Linked DNA regions of Homo sapiens: all the other regions are linked to region 3. The links are contacts of gene promoters, found by promoter capture Hi-C in blood cells and fetal thymus (Javierre and others, 2016). All regions are on one chromosome and are shown on one strand. Each heading gives the region's core, a stretch centred on a gene start or on the middle of the fragment in contact. The rest is flanking DNA. Distances are from core to core; before and after follow the strand shown. Region 1 overlaps DARS1 (aspartyl-tRNA synthetase 1). Region 2 overlaps DARS1 (aspartyl-tRNA synthetase 1). Region 3 holds the start of CXCR4 (C-X-C motif chemokine receptor 4).

Region 1 (4,443 bases), core at 1,463-3,962, 160 kb before region 3:
AATATTTCACATCTCGATTTCCTCACCTGAAAACAAAAACAAAACCAAAAAAACAAAACCAAAAAAAAAAAAAAAAAAAAGAGAGAGAGAACAGAACCAACCTCCTCTCCGCCCCAAAACAAAAAAAGACAAAAACAGTATTTACACCTCATGGGGCTGTTGTGTGGATCAAGTGAGAAAAAAATCTGGCACTTTGTGGCTCCACGCTTAGTATAGAATAAGAGTCAGTTATTATAAGGGAACCTGTTATTTCCCCTGTACATCAACTGGGGAAGATGCTGGTGACCACTGTACTGTAACTTTTGGGTCTGGTACAGGGACTAACAGAGAAGAGGCATCCAAATAAGCATAAAAATCCATGCTAGACACTGGAAAGGTGGCAAAATAAAGCAAGTGTAGTTACTATACTGAGTTTTAATTTCAGATTAAGCTTCTTAAATATTAAAAATAATATTTCACATGCAACGAGTCTGGTATGTGGTAGGGGATGGGTTTTCCATGACCTTTCATCTAAAAAATACATGACACCTGCTACAGAGGTCGAGGAAGAGTAGCCCATCATTATTCACATAATCTATCAATAAACCCAAGATGACAGAAGATGGGCAGCATAACCTTTACACTAATAGTGTTACCTTTTATTTCTCATCATTCTAGGTACCACAGATTTAAGCACCTTGAAGTATTTCATTATACTAGATAGTCTCAATAAAGGCCTAAAATATAACAGAAATCCTATATATTGATGTATTCTGATTGTCTTGTTAACAGTAGGGATAAACTTGGCAGTTGGTAGAGACTGGGGGATGACCAAATTTTATTTTTGGGTAGTCATCGGCTCATATTTTTCTAAACTATTTCCATTTATTACCACCACCAAAAAAAAAAAAAAAAGTCAATAATGGTGAAAGAGACACTATGTACATTAAGTTTTTCCATTTGCGTATTTATATATCCTTATATCAACAAAAACTACTAAAATTTTTAACACAGAAACTTGACTATTAAAGATTTTCAGCAAAACCGATACATTTTTTAGCTTTCTGGTTGTCAGAAATAATGTGTTAAATCTTACTATATACTCAATGATAAATATACTTACAGATCTACATAACCACCCACATTCAAATGAGTAATTTTTAAATCTTTGCAAGGGGGGTGAAAAAAGATTAGTTAGAAAAGAGGCATGCCATAAAGTTGTCACACACCAGTTCTTCAAATAATGCACCAACATAAAATGCTTCAATGTTATAAATTAAATGTACAATTCACTGAGGCAAAGAAGTACAAAATGCCCAAACACAAGAAACCACGTATTTGCTAATTAAAACAGCATCAAAAGAACAAAAATAAATTAGGTAAGTACTTCAAAAAATAATAAAACCACCACCTTTTGAAAATAAAAATCTTTTTTTTTTTTTTTTTTTTTTTTTTTTTTTTAGACAGGGTCTCGCTCTGTCACACAAGCTGGAGTGCTGTGGCACAATCTCAGCTCACTGCAACCTTCGCCTCCCAGGTAGCTGGGGACTACAGGCTCACACCACCATGCCTGGCTAATTATTCTGACTTTTTTGGTAGAGATGATGTTTCACCATATTGCCCAGGCTGGTTTTGAACTTCTGGGCTCAAGTGATCTGCCTGCTTTGGCTTCCCAAAGTGCTGGGATTATAAGTGTGAGCCACCACGCCCAGCCATATGTTTCAATTCTAAGGTAAGCATAAGCTTCATTTATAGGTCAAGCACTTCTTTCAATTATAGTGAATTAGTACCACACTAGACCTCAGACTTTTATATTTCTCACGCAAGTAGAAATAAGTGTTTGAATCAGCATCTTAGCTTTGAAGAATGAGTTAAGATAAGCAAACAGTAAACAATGTAAGAAGTCACATGGTTGTGTCAGGGAAAACCAGAGATGGACAATACTTAAAGTGGTAAAAACAAATTTTATTCAAGATTATTGCAATAGGGGAAAAGAGATCTGAGTATAGAACTAGGCTTAACTTTGAATACACGATTGGCAAGTGGAAACTTAGACCCAAAGATGGGAATATAGAGTCAGTGGATGGAAAATTACTAAGAGGAGCCATCAGGAGAAACAGAAGATTCTGGCTAAAATGACCTAACAGGATTCTTGTTGAAGGCAGGCGAGGGTGATCAGACATCACCTGAGGGATGGTGGAGGAGAAGGAACCCAATTAGCTATGGCGGGTGATCAGATACTGAGGGGGGATGACAGGGGTTATAGTTAAAGCAACTCAGCAGGATTCTTACTAAAACTGAACAATGCAGGCATAAACATGAAGTAAAAAAGTCGAGGCTTACCGGAGCAGAAAGTTCTTTCAAAGGAATCTGAGGAGAGTTTGGTCAATGAGGGACTCTTTGTCACTAGTCAGTAGGGAACTAAATCCTTGCGTTCTCTCTACCTCTATTACACCCATCTGTCCACTGATGCTTTGCAAAAATTAAAGATTTAAATCATTCTTTAAACCATGATAACTTATTTATTTATTTTTTTTGAGATGGAGTCCTACTCTGTCGCCCAGTCTGGAATGCAATGGTGTGATCTCGGCTCACTGCAACCTCCATCCCCCAGATTCCAGCAATTCTCCTGCCTCAGCTTCCCGAGTAGCTGGGATTAGAGGCGCCTACCACCACACCTGGCTATTTTTTTTTATTTTTAGTAGAGACGGGGTTTCACCATGTTGGCCAGGTTGGTCTTGAACTCCTGACCTCAGATGATACACCCACCTTGGCCTTCCATAGTGCTGGGATTACAGGTGTGACCAACCGCGCCCGGCCTGTGATAACTTATTTTTTAAGCCAGAGTCTTGCTCTGTTGCCCAAGCTGGACTGCGGTGGCACAATCACAGCTCACTGCAGCCTGGATCTCCTGGGCTCAGGTGATTCTCCCACCTCAGCCTCCAGAGTAGATGCGACTACAGGTGCATGCAGCCATATCCTACTAATTTTTTTTTTTTTTGAGACGGAGTCTCGCTCTGTCGCCCAGGCTGGAGTGCAGTGGCACAATCTTGGCTCACTGCAACCTTCGCCTCCTGGGTTCAACCGATTCTCCTGCCTCAGCCTCCCGAGTAGCTGGGACTACATGTGCCCGCCACCATGCCTGGCTAATTTTTTGTATTTTTAGTAGAGACGGGTGTTAGCCAGGATGGTCTTGATCTCCTGACCTCGTGATCTGCCCGCCTCGGCCTCCCAAAGTACTGGGATTACAGGTATGAGCCACCACGCTCGGCCGACTAATTTAAAAAAAATTTTTTTGGTAGAGATGGGGTTTCGCCATGTTGGCCAGGCTGGTCTCAAACTTCTGGGTTCAAGTGAACGGCCCATTTTGGCCTCCCAAATTGCTGGGATTACAGGCATGAGCCACCATGCCCAGCTGATCCAAAATAAGCGTGGTGAGAAGTATGCACTACTCAACAAGGCACAGACCAGCAGTTCTAAAACTACTCTATAGGTTCTCTTTAGTGGAATAAAAAATGTCAGCAAACCCCATTAATCACTTAAATAAGTTCTGTCATGTTACTTAAAGACCTACAAATACCAAACTACTGTAAATGCTTATGCTTATAGCCCTTAACTTTAAAATAGAAATAAATTTTTAAATAAAAACAAAATTCAAATTAATAAGTAATATTAATTTTTAATTTCACTAAAACTAAATTGCTGACATTTGGTTTACTCTATAAAGCTTGTAGCCTTAGAGCCAGTTCCATAATTAATTTGTTTCTGTATTCTGACTTCAATACTAGTAATGGGAAGAATACCTGTTCAGTTACCTAAAACATTAACTTTGAGGTAGAGTCAGGATATTTCAGCTTCACAATTAACCAAAATTCTGCAAAGAGTAATCTAAGAATGACAATTTAAATAAAGTATCAGTCAATCATTTTATAAAACTGTCTTACTTATGTGAAAGTTAATGTGGCATTGTTAGTTAAAATTTGTATCAAATGAATTATCAAGTATCTGAACTTAACTGGAACTAGAAATAGAAACATTTTTCCTTGCATCCAACTGTTATACTACTAGTGATCTGCTGCCTAAACAAGTGACCTCAAAGATAAATGTATGAAAGCTACCTTAATTTTTGCTTTCACAATTTTAGCGCATACCCATTTTATGCGCTAAAACACAGTTAACAATTTTTAGGAAAAGGATTTTAAAAGACAAAGAAAAACCCCATATATCTTTTCCCTAAAAAAGTTCTAAAAAGTTCTTGCCGAAGTCTAAAAGTAGACTTCTCCTACCAAGAAGGATCAGGATTTCTGAACTATCTTAGAAGTATAGGTTACATCACACAGAAAGGACAAACTGACTGACCCATCTGGAACATAAAATCATGTTCCTAAGAAAATTATCTTAACCAACTACAAAACCTAAAAACTCATCATTTTTTGCCAACGAGTCTTAGCCATAAGAATTTTC
Region 2 (4,850 bases), core at 1,090-3,589, 140 kb before region 3:
ACAACAGCCAATATTTGGAAGCAACCTAAGTATCCATCAACAGATGAATGGATAAAGAAAATGTGCTACATATACACAATGGAGTACTATCCAGCCATAAAAAAGAATGAGATCCTATCATCTGCAACAACATAGATGGAACTGGAGGTCATTTTAAGTGAAATAAGCCAGGCACAGAAAGACAAACATCGCATATTCTCACTTACTTGTGGGATCTTAAAATCAAAACAATTGAACTCATGGATATAGAGAATAGAAAGATAGTTAACAGAGGCTGGGAAGGGTAATAGGGGTTGAAGGTGGGGGGCCCTGGGAAAATTAATGGGTACCAAAAAAAAAAAGAATGAGTAAGACCTAGTATTTGATAGCAGAACAGGGGGACTACAGCCAATAATAATTGTACATTTAAAAATAACTAAAAGAATGACTGGGTGTCGTGGTGGCTCACACCTGTAATCCAAGCACTTTGGGAGGCTGAGGTGGATAGATAGCTTGAGCTCATGAGTTTCAGACCAGCCTGGGCAACATGGCAAAACCCCATCTTTACAAAAAAAATGAAAAAATAAAAAATAAAAATTAGCTGGGCGTGGTGACATGTGCCTGTAGTCCCAGCTACTCAGGAGGCTGTGGGAGGATGGCTTGAGCCTAGGAGCCACAGGTGCAGTGAGTTGAGATCACACGGCTGCACGCCAGCCTGGGCCATACTTGTCTCAAAAAATAAATAAAATTTAAAAAATAAAAATAATTAAAAGAATATAACTGGATTGTATGTAACACAAAGAATAAATGCTTGAGGGGATGCATACCCAATCTTCTATGATGTGATTATTACACACTGCATGCCTGTTTCAAAATATTTCAAGTACCTCATAAATATATACACCTATTATGTACCCCAAAAATATATACACCTACTATGTACCCACACAAAAGTTTTTAAAAGTCCTTTTTTAAAAGGCATAAATGTGGCATTAAAGAGACTGTGAAAGGGACGCTTATTTACAGTATGAGAGCTGAAACAAGAAGGCAGAACATTACTGTGTTTGACTTTAATTGGGAATGTGTGTACTGGATGACGCAAATACTCTGCCACTCTGCACATGTACAGGTCTGGCATGACTGAGAATGACCACAAAAGTGCTGCAAGTGTTCTGGGGTTATAAATACATTTTAGCCAGTAGGTGAATTTGCGAATATGCAGTCCACGAATAATGAGGATCAACTACGTTAAAATTTATTTTATTACACAGAAAATTTCCAACAAACACAAAAGCAGAGTGAATAGTATAATGAACCTCTCTACATATACATCACATAACACAATTATATTTTGAAGGGAAGAAATGCTAGAAAAAGGTCTGATAAAATTCAACATCTCCTCCTGACAAACAGAAAACTTGGCTGGGAAACTACTTTTAATCTACTTTTTAAAACTTTGCCATTTATTTTCTAATGACATTTTATGTAGAACCTTAAACTCAAAATCATTCATTTAGAACTGGAATTTCTGCTCTTTCAAAAATTCTTCATTGTGTGAATCCCTGAAGTACTAGAGAACCTACTAGTATTGCAAAGAGAAACAAGAAATGAGATACAAACATTTGAAAGAAAAGGACATAATGATCATCATTTGTAATGCCTCTCTTCGCCTCAAAAAACTGAAATGCAAACAGACTTGGAGAAAATTATTTGTTCTTTTTTAATAAAATAGGAACAGGGCAAGAACAAACAATATATAAAAGAAGTTCAAAATAGTTAACATATCAGGAAAAGAAGTTTAATCTAACCAATGACTGAAACACAAATTAAAGCAACAATGGATAAATCTGAACTTTATACAAATGAGAAAAATAAAATATATGTAAAAAAATATAGCCATACTATGAAATACTATGAAACCATTAAAAAACAATGATGCGGCCGGGCATAGTGGCTCACGCCTGTAATCCCAGCACTTTGGGAGGCTGAGGTGGGTGGATCACAAGGTCAGGAGATCGAGACCATTCTGGCTAACATAGTGAAACCCCGTCTCTACTAAAAATACAAAAAAATTAGCCGGGCGTGGTGGCAGGTGTCTGTAGTCCCAGCTACTTGGGAGGCTGAGGCAGGAGAATGATGTGAACCTGGGAGGCGGAGTTTGCAGTGAGCGGAGACTGTGCCACTGCACTCCAGCCTGGGCGACAGAGCGAGACTCTGTCTCAAAAAACAAACAAACAAAAAAAACCTATACGCACAGACATGAAAAGATATCCAAAAGATAAAGAAAAGTGCAAGTTATAAAATAATACAGAGTATTATAAAAATTTTAGCTCAAACACACATATACACTCACATTGACCCTCAACTTCCTCATAAAAACAAATCTGAGGCTGGGTACAGTGGCTGAAGCCTGTAATCCCAGCACTTTGGGAGGTCGAGGTAGGCAGATCACCTGAGGTCAGGAGTTTGAGACCACCCTGGCCAACATGGTGAGACCCTTGTCTCTACTAAAAATACAAAAATCAGCTGGGCATGGTGGCGCATGCCTGTAGTCCTAGCTAAGGAGGCTGCAGTGAACCGAGACCACACCACTGCACTCCAGCCTGTGTGACAGGGCAAGACCCTGACTCAAAAAAAAAAAAAAAAAAGCCCTCATCTCTACTAGAAATACAAAAATTAGCTGGATGTGGTGGCAGGTACCTGTAATCCCAGCTACTTGGGAGGCTGAGGCACGAGAATTGCTTCAACCCAGGAGGCAGAGGTTGCAATGAGCTGAGATTGCCTCACTGCACTCCAGCCTGAGTGACAGGGCAAGACTCCACCTCAAACAAACCAACCAAAAAAACCCACAAATCTGTAAAGAAGGATTACAGTCAGTTTTCCACTTTATACCTGATTTAATTCTATAATGCTTGAGTATTTAACAAAAAATGGTTATTACTTTTATAATCTAGAATAAATTTTTCAATTTTGCAAATTAAAAATATTGTAAATGATCATGTAGAGCTACATAAAACACTGATACAGCATATGAACTCACTTTTGTAAAAGAAAAAGTATCAATTTTTGTTTAAAGCAATTTCTATCATTTCAAACTTTCACAGTGTTTTTATTCTCTTGGGAGCAGAACAAGTGAATTACACTTTCTGCTTTATTCTTTAGTTTTTGTGCTGTTTGAGTTTTAAAATAGTGCAATTAGCATTTAGCCCCTCCAAAATTCCCCAATACCCATAAATAATTTATTTTTTTGAGATAGAATAACAGTTAATATACTAATAAAAAGTGCTATGAAATTCCTCAATTAAAAACTCTTAAGAAAGTTTTAAACCGTTCAGTCTGTTCATAACATTGACACTCATAAATTCTCCCTATCCACCCACCATGATTAGCTCATATCATCAATAAAGTCCTTACACCTTGCAATTTGTTTCATGTTTTGAGGCAGGAGGCACTATCAATTAAGAGACTAAAATAATTTGTCACAAATGGAAAAAAAAACACTAGCAGATGGTACAGGAAGAACATTCTCAAATCCGAAAATGTGCAATGTTTCAAAATCCAAAAACTTTTTGAGTGCCGACATGACTCTCAAAAAACATGCTCATTGGAGCATTTTGGATTTCAGATTTGGGATGCTCAGCCAGTAATGCAAATATTCCAAAAAAAAAAAAAAAAAAAATCCAAAATCCAAAACACTTCCAGTCCCAAGCATTCTGGATAAGGGATACTCAACCTGTATATTTTTTCACTTACGTGATGCTTCATACTTACATGCTGATCTCAATTAGAGTGAGCTACTGGACAGCAAGAACAAGACCCAGAAGACAATGCTCTATTATATGTGTATAAAACACCTGTTTTATTCATCTATTATTCGGTAGGGTTCTTATTATGTGTTGTGTACCAAACAAAGCAAGAAAATAAGCAGTAGCACCTTCCAAGAGCTGACAACAGGAAATAAGACCCACAAAAAACTACGATGGAAGGCAAGTAAGTAACTGTCATGCTCATTAACATGACTCAATTATCGAAGGCTTACACTGCACCAAGCATAGAGCTAAATACTTTATAAATATTACTACATAACATCTTATAAGCTAGGTATTAATATATACTTGTTTTAAGAGAAGACACTGAGGATTGGAAAGGTTATGCAATTTGCGTAGAGTAAACAGATTGTAAGCACAAATCCAGGATTCAAACACACATCTGTCTCACTGAAAAGGTCTTATTCATAACCACTGGGAAGTATCACTCATGAGTTTTAACTGTTAAGAAGAAACAGACATGGCAGTCGTAAAATAAAGGGATGGGTGTGAAGGGAAATATTCTTGGTTCAGGCTTACTTGTAGCATGCATTCTATCTTTTAATTTGCTAAATTACTATGTTTAGGAAAAAGTGCCCCATTTGGACAGAACAAAGGCTCTCAGTATAACGGGAGAGAGACGAGTAAATGAAGGATTATAATACAATGTGACTGACTATTGGCAGAATAAATGGCCCAACCTTTCAGGAAGGCAAATCAACATTATTTGAAAATTTAAAACTCCACCAGTACTCTTCTCAAAGTCTGTCAGTATTCATCAGGGGAGGATACTGAAAGAATAGACAAACTCTTAACAATGGTGGCCCTAAGAGTGAAATGTATGTATAAAGTGCTGGAATTTTAAAAATAATGGGCATGTATTAATTCTACAATAAAAAAATTATAAAACACAATTAAGAAATGCTCTATCGGCTGGGTGCAGTGACTTATGCCTGTAATCCCAGCACTTTGGGAGGCCAAGGCGAGAGGATCACCTGAGGTCGGGAGTTCAAGACCAGCCTGGCCAACATGGTGAAACTCTGTCTCTACTAAAAATGCAAAACT
Region 3 (4,930 bases), core at 220-2,719:
GGCATTTTCCTGGGTGGAGAAGGTAACGGGGTCTGCACCCGTGGTCCTCGCCCCAAGTTTCATTTCCTCACTCTCCCGGGTGGCTTCCCATTACCCCGCCACTGATCCAGTTAACCCGGCCGGAGGTGGGCAGCTGGAAGCCTCCAGGCGGTGGGCACGCGGGGGGCCGGGTCGTCCAGCCCCGGGCCGCCGCGGCTGCCCACTACACCCACGCCAACCGCCCGCAAGCAGCGCTGCAGGGGCTCCGCTGGGCGACACGCCAGGCTCTGTCCCACAGGGTGCTGGGGAGCGACTGGGCGGCTCCGCCGCGAGCGTCTTTGAATTGCGCGCCGCTGCAGGAAACCAAAAACTCCCTAGCAAGAGGGTTTCAAAAGGTTTCTGGAAACCACCGACGGTTAAACATCACAACTGGACTCGGAGAGAGCCAAACGGTTTCCCCACTTGCACCTGCCAGTCTTCGCGGCGGCGACCTGGCAGCCCAGGTGCGGTCTTAACCGCCCCCGCCCCTCACCCCGTACCCGCTCCTATCCCCGGAGCGCAAATCTCAGGGCTGGCAGCTGCGCGGTGTCAAAGGGGAGGTCAAACCACTCCGCTGACCTCTGCACGACCCCAAACTCTCGAACTGCAGGACCCACTCGCGGCCGTGGGGAAGAGGCGCGCTTCGGACGGCGGGAAGGTTTTCCCCCTCAAACCCAAAGCGCGCGGGCGGATCAACTCCTAGCTGCTGCCACCACTCGATCCCCTCAGAGGATCGGCGCGGTGGGTCCACCCGCCTCTCCCGCCCTCTGCCTACTGTGCTGGGAGACTGGCACAGCTCCGTCGGCCGCACAGAGTTTAACAAACACGCACCCAGTGTCAAGAACAGTCACCAGGCGCTTAACCCCGAAGTTAAAGCGGGCGCAATCTCCTCCTGGGAACTCAGCCCAGGCACGCCGCCCTCCGCCTCTAAATTCAGACAATGTAACTCGCTCCAAGACATCCCCGCTTCCCCAAGGAAGAGACCGGTGGTCTGAGTCCCGAGGCAGCGCGCACGCCTTCTCTGCACTTGTGCACAGAATGTTCTTACGTTTGCAAACAGCGTGCAAGCCGCCGCGCGCGGCGGGACTCAAGGGGGAGACACATGCAGCCACTGGAACGCTCTTTCCAGTCGTTTCTCCTCGACTCACAGAGAAAAAGATTCCAATCCTGCTCCCCCCCCACCCACCCGCACTATATAGGCATGGTCAAGAAAACTCCTTTCGGTGACCCTTTTTTGGAGTACGGGTACCTCCAATGTCCTGGCCGCTTCTGCCCGCTCGGAGAGGGGCTGCGCTCTAAGTTCAAACGTTTGTACATTTATGACAAAGCAGGTTGAAACTGGACTTACACTGATCCCCTCCATGGTAACCGCTGGTTCTCCAGATGCGGTGGCTACTGGAGCACTCAGGCCCTCGGCGTCACTTTGCTACCTGCTGCCGCAGCCAACAAACTGAAGTTTCTGGCCGCGGCCGGACTTTTATAAAAACACGCTCCGAGCGCGGCGCATGCGCCGCTGGGGCGGGGAGGGAGAAGGCGGGGTGGGGGAGAGGGGCAGACGCGAGGAAGGAGGGCGCAGGGGCGGGGCGGAGAGGTGCGCGGCTTGGGAAGCCCAGGGGACCCTGCTGTTTGCGGGTGGTCGGTAGTGAGTCCGGAGCCGGACAGGACCTCCCAGAGGCATTTCCTAAGTTTGAGGGAAGCGGGATGCGCCTGAAGACAGGTGGGAAGCGCGGGCTAGGAACGCGTCTCTCTGTGGCGCGTCCATCCTTGCTAAAGTGGATGGAATTCCAGACCTGGGAATGCTACAGTAGAGACACTGAGGCCCAGGGAAGGGGAGTGACTTGCTGGAGTAACCCAACCAGTAGGCGGCAATGCTGGAAGTAGGGCCAAGCTTCCAACGCCATTCCCCGCGCTTTCAGCAGACGCAGCCCATTCAGGAGGTAAAAGGAGTAAAGATCCTTCCTTCGGAGGATGTAGCTATACTTGCACATTCACAGCATCACTAGGGTCAGGTGCAGATAATTAGGAGATACTTTCAGAAGAAGGTAGGATTTGGCATAATTCTGGAGACTGATCAGATGTAGATATGTATTGCTCAGTAATTTCATAATAGCGGTAACCAATTCGCGAATAGTGCTTTATTATCCTAAAAGTATGCTTTATTATAAGAGTAATTTAGCGACCAGTACTTTTTGTAACAGATCACTAGGAACTTGCACAGAATCACTCATTCATTCTCACAACACCGTGTGGGTATTACCATCACAGAGATGCATTTAGTCCGATATTTATAGAAGGACGAACTGCGTGCCACGCACTGTTCTAGGCGTTGGGGATCCAGCGTGAACCAGACAAGGCCCGCATTCGGAGAAACCAGCAAATAAGCCCGGAGAGATGAAATGCCAGGGATGGGCAGGGATTCCAAGCCGGGCTTGAACCCAGGTCTTCGGTCCCCATACTCGGCGTCTTCCACGATTTTGAGCAGAGGACAAGCTTTGGCACGAATCAGAAATTAGGTTGAAGAACTGGGCGGGGCGGAGTGGGGGTGGGGGTCAGACGTTTAAAGCGATCTCAGACTGGCTGAGGTTTGCAGTGGGCGCGCAGACAGTGCTTTCCCCCTCGCGCCACTTCCCTCCGGCGCGGAGACTGGGTGGGGCGGGGGAGCGAGTGTGGGGCGGGGCCGAGAAACTGCGTCCGCAGGCGGGGTGGCCGCTGCGGAGATAGCTGGGACCGAGGCGCGTGCGTCGCGACACGGACCCCAGAGGCCCCCACCCCGAAATGGTCCCGAGGAGAGGGATTGCCCAGACTGCACTCTACACACGATCCCTCTTTTCTATATCAAAAGAGGAAACATTTCAGTCTGGAGTGTTCCAGAGGTAGTTCGGAGGCAGGGAACCTTTTCTCTACAGAGCATGACTTTCCCCCTTTGTCTGGGACCCCTCCCTAATGTTGGTGGTTAAAGGTTCTCATCTACTCTGCACTTTCACTGACACAGGAAAGATGATATCCGGGCCGGGAGATGGGACTCTCAGAAACGAACGAGTTAGGACACACACTAATGGCCAGATAAAATCAATTCTAATATTACATTTGTAGAATTAAAAAAAAAAAAAGAAACTCCAGGTTCTTGGAGGGTGGTGGCTGGAAGAGGTTTCGGAAGCTCCACGCCCCTTCTCACAGGCCTTGCATTACGTATCTCTTCATCTGTATCCTTTATAATATCCTTTATAATAAACGATAACGGTAAGAAATAAAAATGAAAATAAAACCGTAAAAACACTTTTACTTTTTTCGAATCTTTAATAAAACTTAAGGATCTTCATATTTTTATAGACACGGTAGATCCTATCTACTGAAGGTCTAGAATTTCAGAGCGTTTTCATGACTTGCTTTTCACAAAGCCTGGTAGTGGCAGAATCAGTATGTTTTATCCTGGACCGTAAGCTGCACCCTACCTCAAAACTCCTCCCTGCACGATGTCTAAAACCTGAAAGGTGAGATCTCCCAAATCTGTCCAAAAAGGGAAAGAGGAGAAAACTCGGAGCAAAATGGTTTGCATAATAAATATTTGTTGATTGTAGACAGACAAAAGAAAGCTCCTTCCTTTATCTGAAGACTCCTTTCAGATCTTTTTAGGGATCTCTACTAAAAGGAAGCAGATAATTAAAAGAACAATGAGATGCTATTTGGTGACTACCAAATTAGGCAAAAATCCATTTTTTTTCAAAGATAATATTTGGTCTCCGGATTTGAAAAGACCAGCTGTCTCTCGCTTGTCACTGATGGGAATGTGGCTTGGGACAGCCTCACTGGAAAGCATTTTCTATTCAGCAGGAACTTCAGAACAGTAACTCCACTCATAAAAACTTATGCCACAAAGGTATTTGTGGAAACATTTTTTTTTAAATAGTGAAATGTCTGAACATCCCTAAATAACCACTGTTAGTGGAATAGTTGACAAGATTTTGGTTCATCCACATCTGAAATTCCATATGGACATCGCGAATGTTATTTGTGAAGAATTTTTAGTGACATGGGGAAATACTTATGAAACATTAAGTGCAAAAGGCAGGATTCAGAATTGTGTATATAGTGTGATCTCAGTTATGTTAAAATATGCATTTGGAAAATATAGGGAGGAAAACCAAAATGTTTATAGGCGTTTTCCTTGGTGCAGAATTATATTTGATTTTTGCTTTCTTCCTGGGGTTTTTCTATGCTTTCCAGATTTTCTGTAATAGACATGAATCATTTTCATATTCATAAAAAAGCCAACAAATTGTATGACAAAAAGGGAATCAGAAGGCCTCCTTCATGTATGTTTCCACTTCTAAAGTATCTACTAAGATGTCAGACTTTTTTCACAATAGTCCTTTCCCCTTTCAAGGAAGGCTTGTTTTCCAATGGGCTAATCTTAAACTTCTATTTCCACTGGGCTACCTAAACCTTATTCTCAACTATTCTATGATGTTCTTTAAAAAACAAACAAAACTCAAGCATTTACTGAGCGCTTGTTATGTGCAACTGACCTCATATAATCCCCTCAATAACTCTACAAGGCAGGTGCCATTACTTTTATTACATGGTAAAGAAATTAGGGTCTGGAAAGATGAGGAACTGGCCTGTGACCCCGGAATGAGGATCTGCACCCAGTCTGTCTGGCTCTGAAGCCCAGGTCATTTGGCATTTACGTACATACTGCTTTGAGTGGCATCCCTTGTGATGTTACTCAACTTTTAAATGAGTATATGTCATACTCCTATCCCTCCAATATTTTAGGTTCCTTAAAGTGAATGCCCAGATATCCTCTATCCAGCTAGCCCATTGCTGAACAAATACTGGGCTCCTTAATCTTTTACTGAACCTTTCTTAAAAGAATGAATGACTTTCCTGTGTGGCTCTGGCAACAGAGTCA

Evidence for each region. The method cuts DNA at HindIII sites, captures the fragments that hold promoters and counts their contacts. A CHiCAGO score of 5 or more calls a contact.
Region 1: a contact is called between a fragment that was not itself captured here and the fragment with the promoter of CXCR4 in region 3, in 14 of 17 cell types (activated CD4 T cells, non-activated CD4 T cells, monocytes and 11 more). The highest score is 25.4, in activated CD4 T cells.
Region 2: a contact is called between a fragment that was not itself captured here and the fragment with the promoter of CXCR4 in region 3, in 8 of 17 cell types (monocytes, activated CD4 T cells, non-activated CD4 T cells and 5 more). The highest score is 9.9, in monocytes.

Annotation. Positions count from the first base shown.
Region 1 is chr2:135,954,266-135,958,708 of GRCh38, forward strand. The region is part of intron 4 of DARS1 (aspartyl-tRNA synthetase 1); the gene reads right to left. Among named protein-coding and RNA genes, the nearest start is that of DARS1-AS1, 29 kb to the right of the region's middle. The HindIII fragment of the contact is 1,984 bases long and covers 1,721-3,704 here.
Region 2 is chr2:135,973,145-135,977,994 of GRCh38, forward strand. All of the region lies in intron 3 of DARS1 (aspartyl-tRNA synthetase 1), which reads right to left. Among named protein-coding and RNA genes, the nearest start is that of DARS1-AS1, 9.6 kb to the right of the region's middle. The HindIII fragment of the contact is 5,778 bases long and covers 1-4,850 here.
Region 3 is chr2:136,116,680-136,121,609 of GRCh38, forward strand. It overlaps CXCR4 (C-X-C motif chemokine receptor 4), which reads right to left and starts at 1,470. Exons shown (of 2, transcript NM_003467.3): 1 at 1,367-1,470. The coding sequence starts at 1,381. RefSeq lists a silencer at 92-261 and an enhancer at 392-461. The HindIII fragment of the contact is 7,141 bases long and covers 1-1,904 here.